3 separate regions of the Homo sapiens genome follow, and all the other regions are linked to region 2. The links are contacts of gene promoters, found by promoter capture Hi-C in blood cells and fetal thymus (Javierre and others, 2016). All regions are on one chromosome and are shown on one strand. Each heading gives the region's core, a stretch centred on a gene start or on the middle of the fragment in contact. The rest is flanking DNA. Distances are from core to core; before and after follow the strand shown. Region 1 overlaps YIPF6 (Yip1 domain family member 6). Region 2 holds the start of PJA1 (praja ring finger ubiquitin ligase 1). Region 3 overlaps YIPF6 (Yip1 domain family member 6).

Evidence for each region. The method cuts DNA at HindIII sites, captures the fragments that hold promoters and counts their contacts. A CHiCAGO score of 5 or more calls a contact.
Region 1: a contact is called between a fragment that was not itself captured here and the fragment with the promoter of PJA1 in region 2, in 1 of 17 cell types (non-activated CD4 T cells). The highest score is 7.0, in non-activated CD4 T cells.
Region 3: a contact is called between a fragment that was not itself captured here and the fragment with the promoter of PJA1 in region 2, in 9 of 17 cell types (total CD8 T cells, naive CD8 T cells, total B cells and 6 more). The highest score is 15.4, in total CD8 T cells.

What each region holds. Positions count from the first base shown.
Region 1 is chrX:68,517,875-68,521,169 of GRCh38, reverse strand. YIPF6 (Yip1 domain family member 6) reads right to left here. Exons shown (of 7, transcript NM_173834.4): 4 at 2,358-2,400. Among named protein-coding and RNA genes, the nearest start is that of YIPF6, 20 kb to the right of the region's middle. The HindIII fragment of the contact is 4,499 bases long and covers 1-3,295 here.
Region 2 is chrX:69,163,906-69,167,130 of GRCh38, reverse strand. PJA1 (praja ring finger ubiquitin ligase 1) reads left to right here and starts at 1,678. Exons shown (of 2, transcript NM_001032396.4): 1 at 1,678-1,759. The HindIII fragment of the contact is 4,972 bases long and covers 1,274-3,225 here.
Region 3 is chrX:68,501,959-68,504,936 of GRCh38, reverse strand. The region is part of intron 1 of YIPF6 (Yip1 domain family member 6); the gene reads right to left. Among named protein-coding and RNA genes, the nearest start is that of YIPF6, 4.4 kb to the right of the region's middle. The HindIII fragment of the contact is 4,652 bases long and covers 1-2,978 here.

The sequences.
Region 1 (3,295 bases), core at 148-2,647, 650 kb after region 2:
AAGGGGTGCTCCATTTGACCTTGTTGAAATGTTTAAATGAATTATTGAAGACCTTTTTTTTAAGCAGAGGTTATAAACTGAAGGGTCAAATGTGGCTCATATATAATGAGGCCTTGGGCTTATATAATATTTAAGATGATTTTGAATTTAAGTTGACACTATTTTATTTCACATAAGAATATGAATTTCTAGATTTTCTTGAAAAAACTGTTAGACTTTCTAACATTGAGCCTGCATTCCAACACTGCAACAATCAAGTGTAACTGACATAAGTACAAGGGGCTTACAGTCACCATATCACTACTACATGCATTTAGGTTACTATTCTAGCCTTTAGACACATCAGAATTTGTAGTTCTTGGGTTAAGATTTCAGTTGAGATATTTAAAAATGGAAATAGGCCAGGTATGGTGGCTTAGCCTGTAATCTCAGCACTTTGGGAGGCCACGACAGGCAGATCGCTTGAGGCCAGGAGTTCGATACCAGCCTGGGCAACATGACGAAACCCCCGTCTCTACAAAAAATAAAAAATTAGTTGGCCATGGTGGTACACGCCTATAGTCCTAGCTACTAGAAAGGCTGAGTTGGGAGAATCGCTTGAGCCTGGGAGGTTGAGGCTGCAGTGAGCTGTAATCACACCACCAACTCAGCCTGGGTAACTGAGTGAGACTGCCTCAAAACAAAATAAAAATAATAAATAAAAATGGAAACAGTCTATAAACCTTTTTAGTTGTTGATTTTTAAAAAATCAAAACATACAGATTATTACTAAAGGGTTTTGCTTTGGAATTGAGTAGTTGAACAACCACTTAAATATCCTTTCTTTGTCTAAGAATTTTACAGATATAAACTGTTTTGAATATTTGGACTTGGTGTTATTACCAAGAAAAATAATAACTGTAAGCTCACAACCTCTTCTTATTAAACAGTATAGAGAAGTCACACTGTAAGTCTTTCTTGCCCTGCTATGCTACTTGGCAGTATGCACAGGCTTTTGTATTCTATGATATGCATATTCCATTCCAAGTCGTGACAACCAGATGCAAAGAATGGCCAGCACTCATCACTTGTTGTCTGGAATCCCTGTTGCTTCAGCATGGTATGATGGAAAGAATATTAACTAGCCTGGAAGGCAAGAGACCCAGATACTGATCCTAATTCTGTCACTAGATATGTCACTTGATGTCCTGGGACTCCAGTTTTCTCTGCAACTAAGTGGGGTTAAACTACATAATCTATAAGGTTAAACTTTCAAAAGTAAAAAAAATATATATGCTCGGGACATCTAATATAAACCCCTCCATCAAGGCATTAGGCTGCATCCCTTAACATGGTTACTAAAAGCATAAGAAATAGTACTCTACATTATTACCTAAATTAATATATGCTCAATTTAAATTTAAAAAATTAGAGAGGTCAGCAAGAAACTTAGTGAATTTAGACCCATAAAGGGTTAAGCCTGGAAAGGACCCTCAACCACTCCCTTTACAGATATGGAAGAGGCGACCCAGAGTGACCAGGTGGGAAGAGATGTGTAATGAACCCTAGAGGTACAAAATAGGTAGTGAGGAAACCTGAGGTTGAATCTCAGGTCTACCACTGATTATGTGATCTTGGTTAAATCCTCAACCTTTTTGAACCTGAGCTTGTTTGTCAAAAAAAAAAAGAAAAATAAAATAATTTTAATTATTGCAATGAGGTTAAAATAAGAGAAAGTATTTTAAAGTTTTCTGCAAACTGGGAAAAATTATACAAACATTGGTTATTAGTAGCCCAAAGTCACATAGCTAGCTGACAGCAGAGTCAGAATGCGAACTCAGAACTGAATTCCAGGGCAGTATTTTTTCCCGCTCTATCAATGGTTATATTCATCTCTCTAGTGTAACCTTCTTCTCCTTCCCCGTCCTCTTCCTTTACCTACAATGTGTATGGAAAAGTACAACACTCTGAAACATGATCTTGCTTTTAACTCTCCTAATTTATTCTCATTCTCATTCATATTTTTAGTAAGATTACAGAGAATTATGTTTGCAAACAAAGGGTGCTTAAACCTTAATTCACTTAGTTTAATAATAGGGAGGAACAGGAGAGTAAATAAGTAAATAAATGTTTGTTGAATAGACATGGCTAAAACAGACTAAAATGTCATTGGTTAAGGAAGGTGAGCCTAATTTCATCATATTTTAATTGATTTGGAAAGTGACTTTAGAGGCTTAAATACCTAAGGAGTATAACATGTACAACATGTCATATAAGTCCTAAATGAAATATTCAATCAAAATCCCCCACAATTTTGGAAATCCACAAAAAAGTCTAGTCTAGCTCAAATGACAAAGAAAGAAAATGCAAGTACTTACAATGCGAGTGTCACACAAAGGATCAAAGGGCCCCACAAATCCCCTACAAGACAAGAAAAGACAGAAGCGAAGGTAATATTTTCTGTCTTTATTCTAATATCTACCTCTCTCCCTCCTAGAATTCAGACATCAAGGCTCTCTTTGGCTGGCCAAGCCTTCCTACCTCTCCTCTCCCACCACCTGCCCTCCCTGTCCCCTAATCCTGAATGCACTTCTTTACATAGACTTCCAGTTTCGCTTATTTCATATCCCACAAATCACCCTTTCCTTCTCCCCATCTACTAAGACACATGCTGGCACGCTATAATTAAAGACCAATGGACAAACAATCAGCAGACCTAGGTTCCCTACCCCATATTCTAAGAAAAAAAGACTATAGCCAAGGCACTTTACCAGTCAGAGACTGCATTAGACAAGGCAAGTATAATCATGCTCAGTTCACAAATACAAAAAATGAAGCTGAGAAGGAAATGACTTGCCTAGCTTTATATGTGGAGGTGGGACCAGAACCTAGGGCTATTGATTTTTTTTTTTTTTTTTGAGATGGAGTTTGGCTTTTGTTGCCCAGGCTGGAGTGCAATGGCGCAATCTCAGCTCATAGCATCCTCTGCCTCCTGGGTTCAAGCAATTCTCCTGCCTCAGCCTCCCGAGTAGCTGGGATTACAGGCACCCGCTATCATACTTGGCTAATTTTTGTGTTTTTAGTAGAGACGGGGTTTCACCATGTTGGCCAGCATGATTTCGAACTGACCTCAGGTGATCTGCCTACCTTGGCCTCCCAAAGTGCTGGGGTTACAGGCGTGAGCCACCGCACCTGGCCTGATTCTTTTCTTTTTTTTTTTTTTTTGAAACAGGGTCTCACTCTGTTGCCCAGGCTAGAGTGCAGTGGTGCGATCATGGCTCACTGCAGCCTCAACCTCCCAGGCTCAGGTGATCCT
Region 2 (3,225 bases), core at 429-2,928:
CTCCTGCCTTGGTCTCCCAAAGTGCTGCGATTACAGGTGTCAACCACCATGTCTGTACATGAGCCACCATGCAACATGTTTAAATAAATTTAAACAATTTATTTGTTGAGGAGAATTAAAGTTGTTTGCATTATCTTGCTACACTCCTATTCACATATCTTTCTCCATTTGTGTGTCTCAATAGAACACACAATAGAGCAATTGACTAGAAGTAGAATTGCTAGATGAAAATGTATCTCCATTAAAAAATTTGATAGTTTCAGATTTCTCACCAATGAAGTTCTATTATTGTTATTATTATCATCATCATTTTGAGATGGCATCTTGCTTGGTTGTCCAGGCTGGAGTGCAGTGGCGTGATCTTCACTCACTTCAGCCTCAACCTCCTGGGCTCACACAATCCTCCTGCTTCAGCCTCCTAAGTAGTTGGGACTACAGGCACACACCACCAGCTTGTCATATCTTTCTCAGTGAATAAAGCAACCTGTTTTGTTCTCTTTAGTTCTTTTTACTTTGAGTTCTCGATGTTTAGGATATTGATATTGTTACGAGTTTGTTTCCTCCTTCCTTTCCTTCCTTTTTTTTTTTTTTGCTTCTTTCCTTCCCTCATTCCCTCTCTCCCTTTTTTCTGCTAGTATTTTACTCTCATATATTTTTTATTCCTATTTCTGCTTTAGGTGAAACTCACATAAATAGAATATAACTTAGCTTTTAAAAACAAAATGCTCAAAATAAGAGTTTGGTTTTTATTAGGAGATGTTAACCCATAATGCATGCTGATATATTTGGATTCCTGCATTTTTGTTTTCTTTTTGCATCCTTTTTTTTGTACCCCCCCAGCAACATTTCTTGACCTTTGTTAAGAATGAGTTTTTCTCTTTGTTCCACATATTATTACTTTAATGGTTTGAAAGTTATACATTTTATTTCTATTATGTTGTTACCCCTAAGATTTTTGTTCTATTATGCATTTTGTTTCCAGTAAGAACAAAACTTTGCTACTGTTGTGAACATGGGAAATGTTTACATTGGCTGTAAATACTAGAGTTCCATTATAAAGCGCAATTTAAAGACTTCAGAATTCAGTAAAATGGTATAAATCCAAAAGGCGTAACTACAATATTTTTAACTGCAATGCAATAACAGAATATGAACCTGTGTTGTGTCCTATGATCTCTTGGACAGAGAAGCTTGGTTTTGTGATTAGCAGCAACAAATTCAACATAAACAGCTTCAATTTGCTTTAACCATCAGGTTAAAAAAAATTTAAGCTTACTGCAACCCTAAATATGGTTTCACAGTTTTAATACTTTCGGTACAACCATAACACGTAACATAGGATGTGATGTAGTAACGTAATTACTCTCACATTGGACTTAATCAGAAAGAATTTGCAGATTTTATTTTATTTATTAAAAAACCAGAAGGCAATATAGCTAAATGTTTAACATTAGTTAAAGCTGGGTGTTTGTGACATTTTTCGCTGTCCTTTTCTGTATCCTTGACGATTTCATCATTTAAGATGAAATAATGCTTTCGGGCCCACCCTGATTTGTGGAGAGCAGCTGCCGCCCCCGCCACATCAAGGAGGCGGGCTCCAGCTGACTTCACAATCACTTCCGCCGCCGCAGTCGCCGCCCGCCCCGCTGCTGTCTGGCGGGGGAGGAGCTCGGGACCGGGAGCAGCGGCTCTGGCGGTCGTGGCGGTCGGAGATCCGAGAGCTCTGCTTCTCTGAAAAGCGTGTGGCTTTCTGGACTTGGTGAGTGAAAGGCTGATTGTTTCCTCGATTCATCCGGGCGCTGGCGGTGGCGCGAGTGGCCGGGCGCGGGGCGAGTGGCCGGGCACGGGGGCGAGGATTTTGGGGGGTTCCTGGGAACTGCTTTTCAGGTTCGCCCCTCGGGAAGGGGTGGGGCGGACGCGGGACCTGACTGCAGAGTGAGGCCCATGTCCTCCATCGGCCTGTTCTGGGGCCACATCTTCCGCTGCCGGAACCCCTTTGGTGTGGCGCGGTCCCCACTCGAGTGGCTTTCATCGCTATTGGGAGGGCAGTGGTGGTCGCGGCCCTCTCCCACTTCTCCCTGCCTCTCCTCCCCTCTCCTTCCTTCTTCCCTCCTCGGCCCCTTTGCGGAGCACTCCGTGGCCTTTCTTCCCATATTTTGCTGTTGTTTTGCCAAATGGTAAATGGTTAAGATTTTTAGGTAAAAATACTGTTCCCAGGGAAAAAATTGGAAGGAAAAAATAATTATTCTCAGGGAAAACTAGACCCACGCACGCCCTTTTCTTTCATTTTCCCTCTCCCCTGCCACATCGGTTGGGGTCTCCCGTTTGAGCTGATGGCCTTTTCCCACCTCTTTTTATGACATTGCGTCCCCCCTACCCCCCACCCCCCGTGTGTCGCGAGCACGCGCCCCCGCACAGAAGCCTTCCATTGCAGCCCCCTCCTTGCCCCTCCATCCTCAAGGTTCCAGTGCTTCCCCTCCCCCGCGCATGCGCAGGCACACGCAGCACACACCCTCTCACACACCCTCACACCCTCACACCCTCCCATGCCTTCCCCCTCCTCTATCCGCCTACCACATACACACCTCTAGCACCGGCCCCCTCCCTGCTCGGCCTCTGCGTGCTCTCGCGAACACATGCCTATTCACACACCCCCTCCGGCTGCCCTCCTTCTTCCTTCCTGTCATATACACACATAAGGACATCCTTCTATCGCTGGCCAGTGACATACATATGTAGCCACATGTGCTCATTCATACCCCCTTCTCAAATGCTCTCCTCTATTGCTCTGTCTGCCACGTGTGTCAGACACAGCTCTCTTTTGCTGGTCCCTGAGGTGCACACACTCGCACTCACATAAATCCTTCTACGGGGACACAACCTGCCTCCCTGCTTGCCATATCCACACAGGCAGGCATCATTCTTTGATTGCCTGCCTCTGTTCCATCCACCTCAAGCACATCCCTCTCCAGTGCTGCGCACCCCCCACCCCCGCTTCCATTTGTGCCTGCTGCATTTGCTCACACTGACATTTCTCCATTGTTGCCTCCCATTTTGACTAACATACACACACACAAACTCTCAGACACTCCTCTCCATTGCCAACCATACACTCCTCTGCCTGTGACATACGCATAAACATGGGCATCCTTCTGTAGTTTCAGCTGCCTCACATACAGCTACACACACAAACACCTTCCCTTTCCTCATACATACACGCACCCC
Region 3 (2,978 bases), core at 345-2,844, 660 kb after region 2:
AAATAACACTGCACAGCACCTAGCACATACTCAATGCTCAACATGGTATTTGGAGAATACTGGTTAAGAGTGCAGGCCAAATAGCCTGAGTTCAAATCCCAGTTCCATCTTGTACTATCCATGTGACACTGAGCAGGTTACTTAGCCTCTCTGTGCTTCAGTTTCCTCCTCTGTAAAATTGAGATAATGGTACCATCATCACAGGGTTATTGTGAGGAAGAAATGTATTAATACAGGAACACAATAGGGGCTGGATAAATGTTAGCTCAAGTTCAAGATTCCCATGGAGTCAATTCCAGTTCTGTCACTACTGTATAATAAAGAATTTAGCTGGCCTTTGTCCCCTGTACTTGAGAGTTAGCCTCTAAACTTAGAATTTCCTGAATGACAGAGGAGTATTTTTGATATTCACAGGGGCTCTGGTAGTTTATGCTTACAGGTGAGTCACAGTAGGCCCTTACGTAGTTTGTACTCTGGTGATGACTCAGGATGGGGGCTAACCACGTCAGAAACACCGCACATATGACTAGAGGTTTGGGGCTTTAAGTCACAACATATAAGCCCAAACTTTCGGGAGTGGTGGGACCCTGGAGATTGAGTTCCATTATGTGAGCAATGGTCCAATTAATCATAATGAAACCCCAATAAAAACTATAGACACATGAGTGAACTTCCCTGATTGGCAATACTCTGCATATTGTCACATACCAGCAAACCAGGAGGGTAACATGTCTTGAATCCACAGGGACAAGACAAGGAATCTTTGTGTTTGGGACCCTGTCAGACCTCGCCCTGTGTATCTCTCTCTTTTGCACATTTGGATTTGTATCCCTTTGCTATAATAAAACTGTAATTTTAAGTAGAGTGCTGTTCTGAGTCCTATGAGTCATTCTAGTGAATTATGAAACCTGAGGGGAGGGCCAGGTGCCGTGGCTCACGCCTGTAATCCCAGCAATTTGGGAGGCCAAGATGGGCGGATAACTTGAGGTCAGGAGTTCGAGACCAGCCTGGCCAACAGGGTGAAACCCCGTCTCTACCCAAAATACAAAAGTTAGCCGGGCATGGTGGCATGTACCTGTAGTCCCAGATACTCAGGAGGCTAAGGCAGAGGCTGCAGTGAGCTGAGATTGTGCCAAAAAAGAAATAAACCTGAGCGGAACGTGGGAACCCGTGAATTTGTTGCTACTTGCTCTGAAGTGAGGATGGTCCTGGGAACCCCCAAAATTGTGGCTGGTGTCTGAAGAGCAGTCTTGTAGAGGACTGTGCTTTTAACCTGTGCAGTTTGGCCTAACTCCAGGTAGTTGGTATCAGAAGTCTCTGTAGTCACTGAAGTCCCATGTGATCCCCTACTCTCTCCCCTTTGTCTCTTCAAGAATCAGCAACAGTGTTCCATGAGCTGAGTCAGGAACTATGGCCCTCCAGCTCCATGTATAAAAGACAGGACTTCCAGGACCTCAGCTAATGGACCCTGCTCTCTGTCTAGCCCTCAGCGGGAAAGGCGACTTGGATCCATGTCCCTCCCCTTTCCCATCAGCAGGCAGGCTCTTGCACATATATAGATGTGCTCACAGAAACACACATGAACATTGCTCTGCCTGGCTTGGGCCAGTAAGGGGAACAGGTAGAGGCAGGGCCAAAAAACACACAATAAAAGCAGGGACTGCAACCCTAAAAAAAATAGCTGGGAGCAAATGGGTTATACTATTGACCAAAATCCTGGAAAAAGGAATCAACACGGGGAAGCATGAAGCAGGAATCAGCTCAAAGAGGCCTGGCTCCCAGGAGTGGATGACGGGGTAGCCAGTGGCATGGTCTCCAGCCAGCCCCTTCACCTGGGGCCAGCTTCCTCATAGCCTGAGATCTTCCAAAGATCCCAGACTATAGTTCAAGACCAGCCTGGCCAACACTGTGAAACCCTGTCTCTACTAAAAATACAAAAATTTGCTGCACATGGTGGTGCATGCCTGTGATCCCAGCTACTTGGGGAGGCTGAGGCAGGAGAATCACTTGAACCTGGGAGGCAGAGGTTGCAGTGAGCCGAGGTGGCACCATTGCACTCCAACCCTGGGCAACAAGAGCAAAACTCCGGCTCAAAAAAAAAAAAAAGACCCCAGACTGCAGCCATTATTACAGCCTATCTCTTCTTCCTGCCCCCTAAATACAGGCATTACCCAAGATTCTGTCTTTTTAACCCTGTGCAGATGACTCCTAAATCAACAACTCTAGGCAAGACCTCTTCTGCGCCCTGAAGTGCATGTTTTAAAGTCCAACTGCCTGTTGGATATCTATTGAATGGCCTGCCAGTATCTCAAACTAAACATGTCCCAAACTGAATTAGTCAACTTTTAAGGCCCTCATCCAGCTAACCCTCCTTATATATTATCTATTTTTGTTCAGAGTGTCACTATACTCTTGGGTGTCTATAGCCATGCTCTTCAAAATGTGGTACTGGGAGCAGCAGCAGCAGCATCTCCAGGGAGTCTGTAAGAAATGCAAAATCTCGGGCCCTATCCCAGACCAACTGAATCAGAACCTGCAAATTAACAAGATTCCCCAGATGACTGCTAGCACACTAAAGTTTGGAAAATACTGATCTAAGACAAATCCTCCTTCACACGCTACAAACCCTCGTGGATTCTGCCTTGTCTCAAATCCTCTTGTCTCCTGCCACTGCTGTTGTCCAGATCCTTATCATTTCTTCTCAGAACTACTGTAACAGCTTCACTGGCCCTCTAGATTCCAGATATTCCCCCACTGTAACTTACCCTCTATTATGTTGTCCAATTCATGATTTCAAATTCTTCCCTCCTCAAAAATTTCCACTGGCTCTTTGTAGCCCATTAAGCCTCCCAGGTTAGTAGCCAATAATAAGAAATAACACATTGCATTATTATATGCCAGGCATTCTATTAAGTGTGTTAATTTATCCAATGTGTTAACTCATTCCACCTAATAACCCTATGAACTAAGTATTGTTA